2 separate regions of the Homo sapiens genome follow, and region 2 is linked to region 1. Evidence: promoter capture Hi-C in 16 types of primary human blood cells and fetal thymus (Javierre and others, 2016). All regions are on one chromosome and are shown on one strand. The core of a region is centred on a gene start or on the middle of the fragment in contact, and the rest is flanking DNA. Distances in the headings are between cores, read along the strand shown.

Region 1 (6,769 bases), core at 2,112-4,611:
GCCCAAAGTCACACAGCAAAGAAGGAGGCCACCTGGAAGTGAAGGGTCACCCTCACCCCATACTCTTCCTTGGGGCCATTTTACCTACGAGGCTGAGGGCACAGGGCCCACAAACTCTTTTCAAGGGGCCCCAAAATTTTCAAACCTGAAAAAAAAACTTGATTCCAGTCCAGGCGCAGTGGCTCATGCCTGTAATCCCAGCACTTTGGGAGGCCCAGTGGGTGGATCAGTTGAGCTTAAGAGTTCCAGATGAGCCTGGACAACATAGTAAGACCCCATCGCTACAAAAAAATTAATTAATTAATTTAAAATAGAGAAAGGATTTGAATAGACATTTCTCCAAAGAAGATATATGAACAGCCAAAAAGCCCATGAAAAGATGCTTAACATCATTAGTTATTAGGGAAATGCAAATAAAAACCACAATGAGATATTACTTTATAAGCATCAGAATGACTATTATCAGGGAGGAGGAGGCTGGGTGTGGTGGCTCACTCTGTAATCCCCCAGCACTTCAGGAGGCTGAGGTGAGAGGATCACTTGGGCATAAGAAGTTTGAGACAAGACCAACATAGCAAGACCCCATCTCTACAAAAAAATTTTAAAAACTGGCTGGGTATGGTGGCTCACACCTGTAATTCCAACACTCTGGGAGGCCGAGGTGGGAGGATCACTTGAGGCAGGAGTTTGAGACCAGCCTGGCCAACATGGTGAAACCCTGTTTCTACTAAAAATACAAAAATTAGCTGAGTGTGGTGGTAGGCACCTGTAATCCTGCTACTTGGGAAGCTGAGGTGCAAGAATCGCTTGAACCCGGGAGGTGGAGGTTGCAGTGAGCCGAGATCTCACCACTGCACTCCAGTCTGGGCAACAGAGTGAGAGTTCATCTCAAAAAAAAAAAAAAAAAAAAAGGCTATTATGAGGAAGGAGGAGGCTGGGTGTGGTGGCTCACTCCTGTAATCCCAGCATTTAGGGGGACTGAGGTGAGAGAATCACTTGGGTATAAAGAGTTTGAGACCAGACCAACATAACAAGACCCCATCTCTATGAAAAAAAAAAAAAAACTTAAAAATTAGCCAGGCATGCTGATGCTTGCCTGTGGTCCCAGCTACTTGGGGAGAGGCTGAGGCAGAAAGATCACTTGAGCAGGAGGTCAAGGCTGTAATGAGCTATGATCACACCACTGCAATCCAGCCTGGGTGACAGAGCAAGGCCCTGATAAAAAAAAAAAGAAGAAGGAGGAGGAGGAGACGAGGAGGAGGAAGAAAGGAGGAGGAGGAGAAGGAAGGGAGGAGGAGGAGGAGAAGGAAGAGGAGGAGGAGGAGGGCAGGAGGAAACACGTGTTGGGGAGGATGTGCAGAAAATTATTTTTAAAAACCTCAGACATTGCTGGTGGAAATGGAAAACGGTGCAGCTGCTGTGGAAAAGTTTGAGGGTTCCACAAAGAGTTAAAATAGAGTAACTATGTGACTCAGCAACTCCACTCCTAGGAGTCCACGCCCCACAAGAATTGACAGCAGTGACTCAAGAAGATACCTGTGCACACATGTTTATAGCAGCATTAGTCACCTTCACCAAAAGGAACCAACAACACAAATACCCATCAATGGATGAACGGATGAACACAATGTGTTCCAGACACGCTATGGAATATTACGCAGCCATAAAAAGGAATGAGGCACTGATCCATGCTACAACCTCGATGAACCTTGAGTACATCATGCAGAGTGAGAGAAGCCAGAATGCCACCTCTTGTATGACTCCATTGATATGAAGTGTCCAGAACAGGCAAATCGACAGAGACAAGAAGTAGATTAATGGTTGTGAGCCACTTGAGGAGGGGGAATGGGGAGTGGCTGGTAATGGGGATGGGGTCTCCTTTTGGGGGGATGAAAATCTTCTGGAGCTAGACAGAGGTAATGATTGTACAACACTAAATGCCACTGAATAAAATGATTAATTTTATGTTATGTAAGTTTCATCTCGATTTTTTTAAAGTGCTGTGCGAATAATTTGGGGGACCAGTTGGGGAAGGGATCCAGGATTCTCCCTAGCCTCCTAGAGGAAGCAACGGTTACCCAAAGGCTTGAAGGAAGTAAGCAGAGGGGAAATCACAGCCAATGACAGAGTCCCTGGGTTGAGATCAAATGAAAAGTGAATTTTTAAATTTTGTTATTTCTTTTTTGAGACACAGCCTCGCTCTGTCACTCAGGCTGGAGTGCAGTGGCGTGATCTCAGTTCACTGCAGCCTCGACCTCCTGGGCTCAAGCGATCCTCCTGTCTCAGTCCCGAAAGTAGCTGGGTCCACAGGCGTGCACCACCACACCAGGCTGACTTCCTTATTTTTTGTAGAGATGGGGTCTGGCTATGTTGCCCAGGCTGGTCTCAAACTCCTGGGCTTAAGCCATCCTCCTGCCTCAGCCTCCCAAAGTGCTGGGATTACAGTTGTGAACCACCTCACCCAGCCCTTTCTCTCTCTCTCTCTTTTTTTTTTTTTTTTTTTTTGATGGAGTCTTACTCTGTCAGCCAGGCTGGAGTGTGCAGTGGTGCAATCTCGGCTCACTGCAACCTCCGCCTCCCTGATTCAAGCATTCCTCCAACCTCAGCCTCCCGAGTAGCTAGGATTACAGGCCATGCACCACTACGCCGGGCTAATTTTTTTTTTTTTTTTTTTTTTTAGTAGAGACGGGGGTTTCACCATGTTGGCCAGGCTGGTCTTGAACTCCTGACCTCAAGTGATCCGCCCACCTCGGACTCCTAAAGTGCTGAGATTACAAGCGAGAGCCACCGCGCCCGGCCTCCTTTCTCTTTATTTTTTATTTTTTAATTAATTAATTAATTAATTTTGAGACGGAGTCTCGCTCTGTCGCCCAGGCTGCAGTGCAATGGCGTAATCTCAGCTCACTGAAACCTCCGCCTCCTGGGTTCAAGCAATTCTCCTGCATCAGCCTCCCGAGTAGCTGGGATTACAGGCTCCGGCCACCACGCCCGGCTAATTTTTGTATTTTTAGTAGAGACGGGGTTTCACCATATTGGCCAGGCTGGTCTGGAACTCTTGACCTTGTGATCCGCCCGCCTCGGCCTCCCAAGGTGCTGGGATTACAGGCGAGAGCCACCGCCCCCGGCCTCCTTTTTCTTGTTTTAAACCACAATACAATCGATGCTTAGGGCGGCAGGGGGCGGGGTGGTGCCCTTTTCTGAACTTAGCGAGCTGTGGGGTTCCCGCGATCCAGTCCCTAGTGGGGCCTCCCCGCCCTGCGCCCGGTGCCAGGCCCCGCCCCGCCAGGCCCAGCGGACCAAGAGGGGGCGCCCGCGGGGCCCCGGGAGGGAGGAGAAAAGACTTTGTCCCAAGTTTTCGCGGAGATTCGGCGTCCCGGCTGCGACCAGCACCCCGGAGCCCCCGTCCGTCTGGCGACCCCCAGCCCAGTCCCCGAACTTTCAGACACTCCCTGCGGCCCCGCCCCCTCGGGGACCCCCTGAGGACCCTCGGATTCCCCCCAACTCCCCTGCCCTCTAAAACCACTTCAATTCCTCAACTCTTCCCCCGGCCCGCAGGAACCCCCGCCATGGCCCGTTCTTACGGCGGCCGGGTGCTGGCTGCAATGACCCTGCTGGGCATCGCGGCGGCCGTGCTGGCGGCGCTGGGCGCGCAGCTGCTGTTTCAGCTGCAGGCGGGCCGCGCCGAGCTGCGGGGGCTGCGCGCCGAGGGGCTGGGCCAGGAGCTGGGCGCCGGCCCCGGGCTGCCAGAGGACGCGGCCGGGACGCTGCTGCCGCTGGCCGCCGCGCTGGCCGCGCTGGTGCTCGTGCTGGGGTTCACCTGCTTGCTGCTCGCCGCGCTCTGTGGCCACCTGGGCGCCGAGCTGGCGCGGGGGCCTGGCCCCAGGAGGTAGGAGGACTGGCCTCACCGCCTCGGAGGCCCGGCTGGGGGCTGGGTGAGCCTGGTTGAGCCTCTTCCCCTCTTTTGGCCTCAGGCTGGGGGGACAGCTTCCCTCCCCACTTCCCTCTCCCCACCACTCCATGTCTCTCTGCCTCCCTCCTTTCCTCTCCTCCTCCCTCCTTCCCTCCCTCCATTCTATATTTGTTCAATTTTGCAGCAGGTGCAACCACTGCTGTGTCTCGCATTTTGCAGATGAGGAAACTGAGGCTCAAAGAGGGTCCAGGATCAGCTTGCCTGGATCTCAAACAGGGGAGGCTGAGCTCTCAGGCTGTCTGGCTTGGAAGTGGGTGGGAGGCGGGACAGTGCTGGACTTGAACTTGGTTCTGGGTAGAGCCAGCCAGAGCCTGTGTCCTGGTCTGAAATTGAGTTCCTTCCTCAGGGACCTGAACTCAGTCAGGGATGTGGTCATTGAGGGACCCCTATCAGGGGCAGTGGTTGTGGAAGGAGGAACCCTCCTTGAGCTGAGGACTCCGCTGTCCCACATGGTAGTGTTTCTCTCCAGAATGTCGGGGGAGAGGAGCCCAAATTCTAGTCCAGAATTCTGTGAAATTGAGCAGATGAGAACTCCCACCATTGAGGTAGATCCTATCCAGACCATGCACCTTCCACCCAAGGGACAATGAAATGCATGGGTCCCACGGGTCAGCAAACATCTGTTGGGTGCCTGCCTGCAGGGGAATGGATCTGGCTCAGGGCATCAGAGACAGCGGGGACCAAGTGGACCCAGACCTGCTCTCATGGGGTCACAGAAAATAAGGAAACATAACAAGGACAAGGCATGGTGGTTCACACCTGCAATCCCAGCCCTTTGGGAGGCAGAGGCAGGAGGATCATTTGAGGCCAGGAATTTTTTTTTCTTTTTTTTTTTTTGAGACAGAGTCTTGCTCTGTCACCCAGGCTGGAGTGCAGTGGCGCTATCTCGGTTCACTGCAGCCTCCACCTCTTGGGTTCAAGCGATTCTCCCACCTTAGCCTCCCGAGTAGCTGGGATTACAGGTGCCCACCACCATACCCAGCTAATTTTTGTATTTTTAGTAGAGGCGGGGTTTCACCATGTTGGCCAGGCTGGTCTTGAACTCCTGACCTCAAATGACCCACCCACCTTGGCCTCCCAAAGTGCTGGGAGGCCAGGAATTTGAGACCAGCCTGGGTAATATAGCAAGACCTTGCCTCTACAAAAAGAAAAAATAATAATTAGCTAGGTGTGGTGGTGCATGCCTGTAGTCCCATACACTTAAGAGGCTGAGGCAAGAGGATCCCTTGAGCCCAGGAGGTCAAGGCTGCAGTGAGCCATGATCATGCTTATGAATAACCACTGCACTCTAGTTTGGGCAACATAGTGAGACCTCATCTCTAATAATAATAATAATAGCAGATGGTAATGAGTGCTGAGAAGGAAAGGAAACAGAGAGATGGGATAGAGAGGAGATAGGACTTTGGGATTTCTTCTGCTAAGGAGGGTTGTGAGTAAGGAGGAAGGTGATCTGATTTAGGTTTTGAATGACCACCTCTAGCCACTGTGCTGAAAAGGGGACAGGAGGGAAGGCGACAGGAAGATGGGGAAGGCGTCCACTTTCATTATACTGGTGGGAGCTGAGTGAGGATGGAAGCTCTTATAGCCTCCACTTCCTCCTCAATCAGTCTCACCTCTTGGGGTCGCGGTTTGTATCATCAATAACAGCATGTGAAACTCAGTTTCCTCATCTCTCAAAGAAGCTTGTAGTCTGTAAAATAATGGAAGCCAGGTGTGTAGCAAGTATCTGCACATAGTAGCTGCATCCTGAGTGTTGAGTGTTTGAGTGGACTCATGCATATAGATGGGTTATAGGGGAAAGAGAATGGATGGTGGATGGATCGAAGTAAGGAAGGATGAATGGATGGATGGATAGATGGATGGATGGATGGATGAGGGGTGGATGGATAGTGAATGGAAGATGGATGACCAGTGGATGGGTGGGTGAGGGATGGATAGATAGGATAGCAGAGGGTGTTTAAATGAATGGATGGATGGATGAATAGCACATGGTTAAATGGATGGAAGGCTGTATATGAGTGCTGGTCAAATAATCAATGAATATGAATGGTAAATGGATGGTGGACACTGACTTGGAAAAATGGATGTGTGGATGGATGGAGCATAGATAAATGGATAGATATCAGATAGTGGATGGTGGATATCTAAATGATTGTATGGATGGATGAATGGGTGGGGCCGATGGATGGATAAGTGGATGGATGAATGAATTGATAAGTGGATGGATGAATGAATGAGTGGATGGATGACTGGTTTGATGGATGGATAAGTGAATGGATGGATGGATAAGTGGATGGATGGATGAGTGGAAGTATGGATGGATGGATGGGTGGATGGATAAGTGGACAGATGGATGAATGGGTGGATGAATGGATGAATGGATAAATGGATGGATGGATGGATGGGTAAGTGGGTGGATGGATGAATGGGCATATGGATGGATGGGTGGATGGATGGATGAGTGGACAAATGGGTGAATGGGTGGATAAATGGATGAATGGATGAATGGATAAATGGGTGGATAGATGGATGGATGGGCTGATGGATACATGAGCTGATGGATGAATTGATGGATAGATGGAGAGTGGATAAGTAAATGGATGTAAATGGGTGGGCAAGTAGATGGATGATGGTTAGGTACTCACATAGATTTTGGGTCCCTGAAAGCTGGGTCCTTGTCTCATTTAAGCGGCTCTCCCTCCCTGTCCTCACTGACCTCCCCCCACCAGCTCCACTTCCTGAACCCTTTATCTTCCTGCTCCCCTTCATTCCAGGTCTGACTGGTTTCTCTACGACTGC
Region 2 (6,813 bases), core at 180-2,679, 270 kb before region 1:
AGTTCAGCCGGGCCCCCCAGCTCCCAGAATATTTCAATAATTAGCACCCCGTGGGTGGGGAGCGCCCCAGCCTCCTCCCTTCACTCACAGCTTGGAGACTCAGAAGTACCCAACACCTTCAGGTCTCGCTGCAGCTGAGCCAGGGGACCCAGAGCACACCTCATCATTTTACACACAAGATTCATCAGCAACAAAGCCTCCACCTCCTCCATCTCCACCTCCTCGCTGCTCCTATGCCCTGCCAGACCCGTTTCCACTCACCGCCCTTGCAACAGCTGTTTCCCCTGCCTGGAAGTCCATCCCCCTGCCGCCCCCACCTGTTCCTACTGGCCAGGGGGCCCTTCCCCCTCAGCACCTTCGGGTGCTAAGACTGACTGTCCTCTCAGTCCCTTGCAGCCTTCTCATCCTTCCTGACACCATGTGAGCTGGAAGCTTGTTCCATCTCCTCACTCGCTTTGGGTCCATCCCCAAACCAGACCTGTGTTGGCAGGGCTGAACCTGTCTATCATCCCGGCCATATCCCTGTGTCCACTGCCCAAAGGCCTGGCGCATAGCAGGTGCTCACTAAACACTCCTCAAGCACATGAACCGAGGTGCGTGTTCCTGTCCCATTTTACATGCAATGAAACGCCAGGTCCAGATGCTCCGAGGGATGGGGGATGAACACCCATCTCCACCCACGGGCGCATCACGCCCGCCAGTCCCACTGAGCCAAGTGGCTGCAGGTGAACCTGGCAGGTGCGCCTATGACTCACCTCCCTAGGTGCCAAATCCCCAGGGCAGGCCGCACCCGCCCACACCCCAATTAGCAGCTCCTTGTGAGGCAACAGAAAGCGGGCCCCGGGGCTCCAGGCCCAGCCTCCCCCATATCTGCTTCTCCCTCCGGGAGATCTCTATCTAAGCTGCTAAGACCTGGAGATCCAAAGCGACCCCAGGCCCTACCCCCGGGCAGGCCAGTCAGGCGGGAAGCGGAGCCGTGGTCCAACTGCAAGGGTCCCCAAGCCCAGGCCCGTGTCCCCTCCCCTATCTTCACCCGGAGTTGGGGCGGGGCAGCCCTGCCCAGCCCAGGCCCGGATGCCACTTTCTCCGCGGGCACCCACGGGCACCCCGCCTTTGCCCGCGTCGTGCGCCTAACGGTGAAGGGGACCCAGCCCCAGGCCCGCGACCCCCGCCCCGGAGCCCGGGTCCCGCCGCCGCCGCCGCCGCCGCCCCACCCCGCCGGCCCCGGGCCCAGACGCGCGAACGGGCCCGCCTCCCGGGCTCCCGCGGGCCCCCAGGCCAGCCCGACCTCTTTCGAGCTCCTCCAGGACGTAGGTGAGGAGCCCCGGGCTCCCGAACTCGCTGCCCACCACGAGGAGCAGTGAGCTCGGAGCCGCGGCAGCCCCAGATCCAGCCACCGCCGCCATCTTCGGGCCGCCCCGGCGTTCTCGGCGCCCGCCCCGCAGGCCCCGCCTCTTAAAGGGGCCGCACCGGAAGGGCTGAAGACCCCGCCCGGAACCACCGCATCCCCGCCCCTTTTTGTCGACCACTTACAGGCCCTTTGAGGTCGTGGAGAGCAGGGGATGCGGGCGTTAAAGGGGTTGGCCGACTCCTGGGTGTCCGCTTGGGAGCCGCCTCTCCCAAGTGACCATTCATTCATTTTTTTTTTCATTGAACAAGCTTTGATTGCGTGCCTGCTGCATGTAGGTCAGAACTCCTGCCCTCCAGGAACTCACATCACATGACAGTAGGCCGCATCAGAACCCGGTGCCTATGGATGCTCCCAGCTCTCTAGGTCAGGGCTTGAACAGAGAAAAGAAATCTATCTTGTAGGTAGGGCTTTAAGGGATGTGTAGGAGTTTGCCTTGTGGGTGGTGGGGCAAGAGCTGGTGAGGCAGAAGTTTACAGCAGGTGCAAAGTTTTAGAGGTAAGAAAGTACATGTGTGTTTGGGACACAACCGGAGCACTCTGGGCCTGCCTGGAACAGGGCAACACTTATTCTGCACCTCCTGTGCGCCAGGTATTTTATTGCATTAGCTCATTACATACAAGCACAAAGCGATGAGTTTTGTGCTTGTATGTAGGCACAGATGAGTAGGCACAGTTACTGTGGTCACTTTCAGAGGAAAGAAGAGGAAACTGAGATTTGGAGGGATGAAGTCACCAGGCCTGTAAGTGGTAGAGCAGGTTTGAACCCAAGTGGGTCTTACTCTAGATCCAGCCTGTGCAAGGGACTGCCTGCGTTGCGCACATGGGTACCTCTCTCTCCCCAGATAATCCTCTTTAGGCTTTTCTTTCCTTTCCTCCCCTCTCTTCTCCTCTCCTCCCCTCCCCTCCTCTCCTCTTCTCCCCTCCCCTCCCCTTCTCTCCCCTCTCCTCTCCTCTCCTCCCCTCCCCTCCCTTCCTCTCCCTCCCCTCCCCTCCCCTCCTCTCCCCTCTCCTCTCCTCTCCTTTCCTTTTCTTGAGATGGAGTCTCATTCTGCCGCCCAGGCTGGAGTGCAATGGCACAATCTCAGCTCACTGCAACCTCTGCCTCCCGGGTTCAAGCGATTCCCTTGCCTCAGCCTCCCAAGTAGCGGGATTATAGGTGTCCGCCACCATGCCCTGCTAATTTTTGTATTTTAGTAGAGATGAGGTTTCTTTTCTTTTCTTTTCTTTTCTTTTCTTTTCTTTTCTTTTCTTTTCTTTTCTTTTAGAGACAGAGTCTCGCTCTGTCGCCCAGGCTGAAGGGTAGTGGCGCGATCTCGGCTCACTGCAAGCTCCACCTCCCAGGTTCATGCCATTCTCCTGCCTCAGCCTCCCGAGTAGCTGGGACTACAGGCGCCCGCCACTGTGCCCAGCTAATTTTTTGTATTTTCAGTAGAGACGGGGTTTCACCGTGGTCTCGATCTCCTGACCTCGTGATCTGCCTGCCTCGGCCTCCCAAAGTGCTGGGATTACAGGCGTGAGCCACCGTGCCCGGCAGAGATGGGGTTTCACCATGTTGGCCAGGCTGGTCTCGAACTCCTGACCTCAAGTGATCCTCCTGCCTTGGCCTCCCAAAGTGCTGGGATTACAGGCGTGAGCCGCCGCGCCTGGCCCCCTTTAGCCCTTTGACCCATAGGGGCTACTACTTGACAAATCATCTTGCTTGGAACTTCTGGACAGTGGTCCATGCCCAGGAAACATTGAACCTCCTTTCTCAGGAGTGAGCTCCCTGTCTCCGGGAGTATGCAAAGAAAAGCAGAACAGAAATGGGAAAGATCTGGGAAGGCGAATCAGCCTCCCGCTGCCGTTTATTATCTAGGTTGTTCAGCCCAACTTCCTCCCTGGCCAGTGTGTAACAGCCACTGGCCACGTGCCGTCTACCATTCTTGCACTCCACTTCCTCTCTCTCTTTTTGGTTCTGGCATCCTTCCTCTATCCTTGTCCCTCCCCCTTGGCTCCCTTCCCTGTGTCTCGCCTGCCTGTGATTTCTTCTGTTATTGCTGTGAGCAGTAATAGTAGTGGGAGTGTCTGTGTCGGGCACTATCTCCCCTATAAGGCTGGAAACTTTTGGAAGCCTGAGGCCTCTCTGGGGCCCTGGCCTTGTGCAACACAAGGCTTGGGCATCTGAGAAGGGATATGATAAAGTCTTTTGGAATGGGCTGAAAGGCCTATTTGTCCACTATTCCTTCCTTCCTTCCTTCCTTGTGTATTTATGGATGGGTCCAGGATTCGAACCCAGGAGCTTCTGAATGGAAGTCTATCCACTTCCTTCTGCCCACGCTGTGAATTATGATTGTTGGTACTAATTCTTTTTTTTCTTTCTTTTTTTTTTTTTTGAGACGGATTCTCACTCTGTCGCCCTTGCCAGAATCATTCTGAGAGAGAGAGAGAGAGTCTTGTTCTGTCAAGCAGGCTAGGTTGGAGCACAGTGGTGTAACCTCGGCTCACTGCAAGCTCCGCCTCCCGGGTTCAAGGGATTCTCCTGCCTCAGCCTCCTGAGTAGCTGGGATTACGGTACCCACCACCATGCCTGGCTAATTTTTGTATTTTTAGTAGAGACATGGGGTTTCACCATGTTGGCCAGGATGGTCTCGAACTCCTGACTTCAAGTAATCTGCCCCACTTGGCCTCCCAAAGTGCTGAGATTATAGGTATGGGCCACTGCACCGGCCTGTTGGTATTAATTCTATTACTAGTTGGTCTTACAGGGCCTGAAGAAATGTCTCCACTAGGGGGATCTGATTTGGGGATGAAGGTCTCCCCCATTAGGTTTTTGGGAGATAATGTCCTGAGTACTTGGAGCCATGAGGTCTTCCTGTCCCAAAGCATTTCCCAAGCTTGAGGACTCTGGTGTGGGACATGTGGGGTGCATTTCCCTAGAAACTGAGAAGCCTCTGAGACCACTGCTCAAATCCCAGGCATGGGACTCTGGTCTCTGGTTTCTGGCCCAGCTCCATGACTGTTTCAAGGTCACCATCCCCAGAGGCGTCAGATGATGGCATTTGTGGGGAAAACGGAACCCTGAGCCCTCAGGACTGCTGGATATTCTCATCTTCTCCTGGCAATTATTTTCTTATTTTAACAGTTTTGTTGAGGTTTAATATAGACATGGTCAGGCTGGGTGTAGTAGCTCACACCTGTAATCCCAATATTTTGGGAGGCTGAGACAGGCGGATCACTTGAGGTCAGGAGTTTGAGACCAGCCCGGCCAACATGGTGAAACTCCGTCTCTACTAAAAATACAAAAATTAGCCAGGTGTGGTTGTGGGCTATTCAGGAGGCTGAGGTGGGAGGATCACTTGAGTCTGGGCTGTGGAGATTGCAGCGAGCTGAGATCACGCCACTGCACTCCAACCCAGCCTGCTTGACAGAATGAGTCTCTCTCTCTCTCTCTCTCTCTCTATCTACAGTGGTGTGATCTCGACTCACTACAACCTCTGCCTCCCAGGTTCAAGTGATTATCCTGCTCCAACCTCCCAAGTAGCTGAGATTACAGGCACCTGCCACCATGCCCAGGAAGTTTTGTGTTTTTAGTAGAGACGGGATTTCACCATGTTGGCCAGGCTGGTCTTGAACTCCCGGTGTCAGGCCAGCCTTGGCCTCCCAAAGTGCTGGGATTACAGGCATGAGCCACCGTGCCCGGCCTTTTTTTTTTTTTTTTTTTTTAAGACAGGGTCTCATTCTATCACCCAGGCTGAGGTGCACTGGCTTGATCTCAGCTCACTGCAACCTTGACCTTCAGGGCTCAAGAGATCCTCCCACCTCAGCCTCCCAAGTATCTGGGACTACGGGTGTGCGCCGCCATGCCTGGCTAATGTTTTGTATATTTTGTAGAGATGGCATCTCCTTGTTGCCCAGGATGCTCTCAAACTCCTAGGCTTAAGAGATCCACCTTGACCTCCCAAAGTGCTGGGATTACAGGGTCAGGTTACCCAGGCTGGAGTGCAGTGGCACAATCTCAGCTCACTACAACCTCTGCCTCCAGGGCTCAAGCAGTCCTCCCACCTCAGCCTCCTGACTAGCTGGGACAACAGGTGCAGGCCACCTCTGCTGGCTAATTTTTGTATGTTTTGTAGAGATGGGATTTTGCCGTATTGCCCAGGCTGGTCTCAAACTCCTGAGCTCAGGTGATCCACCTGCCTCAGACTCCCAAAGTGCTGGGATTACAGGCATGAGCCACTGCACCCGGCCTCCATTTTAACCATTTTACAGTGTACAAATCAGTGACATTTAGTGCATTTACAACGTCCTGCCACCCTCGCTAATATCTAGTTCCGGAATACTTTCATCCTCTTAAAAAGAAACTCTGTCCTAGGGCGGGCATGGTGGCTCATGCCTGTAATCCCAGCACTTTGGGAGGCAGAGGCAGGAAGATCCATTGAGCCCAGGAATTCAAGACCAGGCTGGACAGCATAAGGAAACCCTATCGCTCTATTCGGAATTTTTTTTTTTTTTTTTTTTGAGAAGGAGTCTTGCTTTGTCACCCAGGCTGCAGTGCAGTGGCACCATCTCAGCTCACTGTAACCTCTGCCTCCCAGGTGCAAGCAATTCTCCTGCCTCAGCCTCCTGAGTAGCTGGGATTACAGACATGCACCACCACGCCTGGCTATTTTTTTTATTTTTAGTAGAGACAGGGTTTCGCCATGTTGGCCAGGCTGGTCTTGAACTCCTGATCTCAGGTGATCCACCCACCTCAGCCTCCCAAAGTGCTGGGATTACAGGTGTGAGCCACTGTGCCTAGCCTATAATTTTTTAAATAAAAATTGAAAAAAAAAAAAGAAAATAAATGCTATCCTCAACAGCAGTAACTCCCTATTATGCACTCCCCCCCGCAGTCCCTCACAACCACAAATCAGCTTTCTGTCCTAAGGATTTGCCCACTCTAGGCATTTCAGGCAGTAAGTGGCCTTTTGCAGCTGGCTTCCTTCACACAGCATAATGTTTTCCAGCTTCACCCACGTTGTATCTTGTGTCAGTACGTTATTCCCTTTTTATGGCTGAATCATATTCCTGTATATGGATGAGCCACATTTCTTTTTTTGTTTTTTGTGGGTTTTTTTGTTTTTTTTTTGAGACGGAGTCTTGCTCTGTCGCCCAGGCTGGAGTGCAGTGGCGTGATCTCGGCTTACTGCAAGCTCCGCCTCCCGGGTTCACGCCATTCCCCTGCCTTAGCCTCCCAAGTAGCTGGGACTACAGGCACCCGCCACCATGCCCGGCTAATTTTTTTGTATTTTTAGTAGAGACGGGGTTTCACTGTGTTAGCCAGGAGGGTCTCAATCTCCTGACTTTGTGATCCGCCCGCCTTGGCCTCCCAAAGTGCTGGGATTACAGGCGTGAGCCACCGGGCCCAGCCGGGCCACATTTCTT

Evidence for each region. The method cuts DNA at HindIII sites, captures the fragments that hold promoters and counts their contacts. A CHiCAGO score of 5 or more calls a contact.
Region 2: a contact is called between the fragment with the promoter of MAP1S here and the fragment with the promoter of TMEM221 in region 1, in 2 of 17 cell types (megakaryocytes and endothelial precursors). The highest score is 5.6, in megakaryocytes.

What each region holds. Positions count from the first base shown.
Region 1 is chr19:17,445,260-17,452,028 of GRCh38, reverse strand. TMEM221 (transmembrane protein 221) reads left to right here and starts at 3,361. Exons shown (of 3, transcript NM_001190844.2): 1 at 3,361-3,886; 2 at 6,745-6,769. The coding sequence starts at 3,567. RefSeq lists a silencer at 3,228-3,347. The HindIII fragment of the contact is 12,702 bases long and covers 1-5,654 here.
Region 2 is chr19:17,714,096-17,720,908 of GRCh38, reverse strand. It overlaps MAP1S (microtubule associated protein 1S), which reads right to left and starts at 1,429. Exons shown (of 7, transcript NM_018174.6): 1 at 1,289-1,429. The coding sequence starts at 1,406. RefSeq lists enhancers at 238-387, 778-847, 2,898-3,399 and a silencer at 1,198-1,247. The HindIII fragment of the contact is 1,227 bases long and covers 435-1,661 here.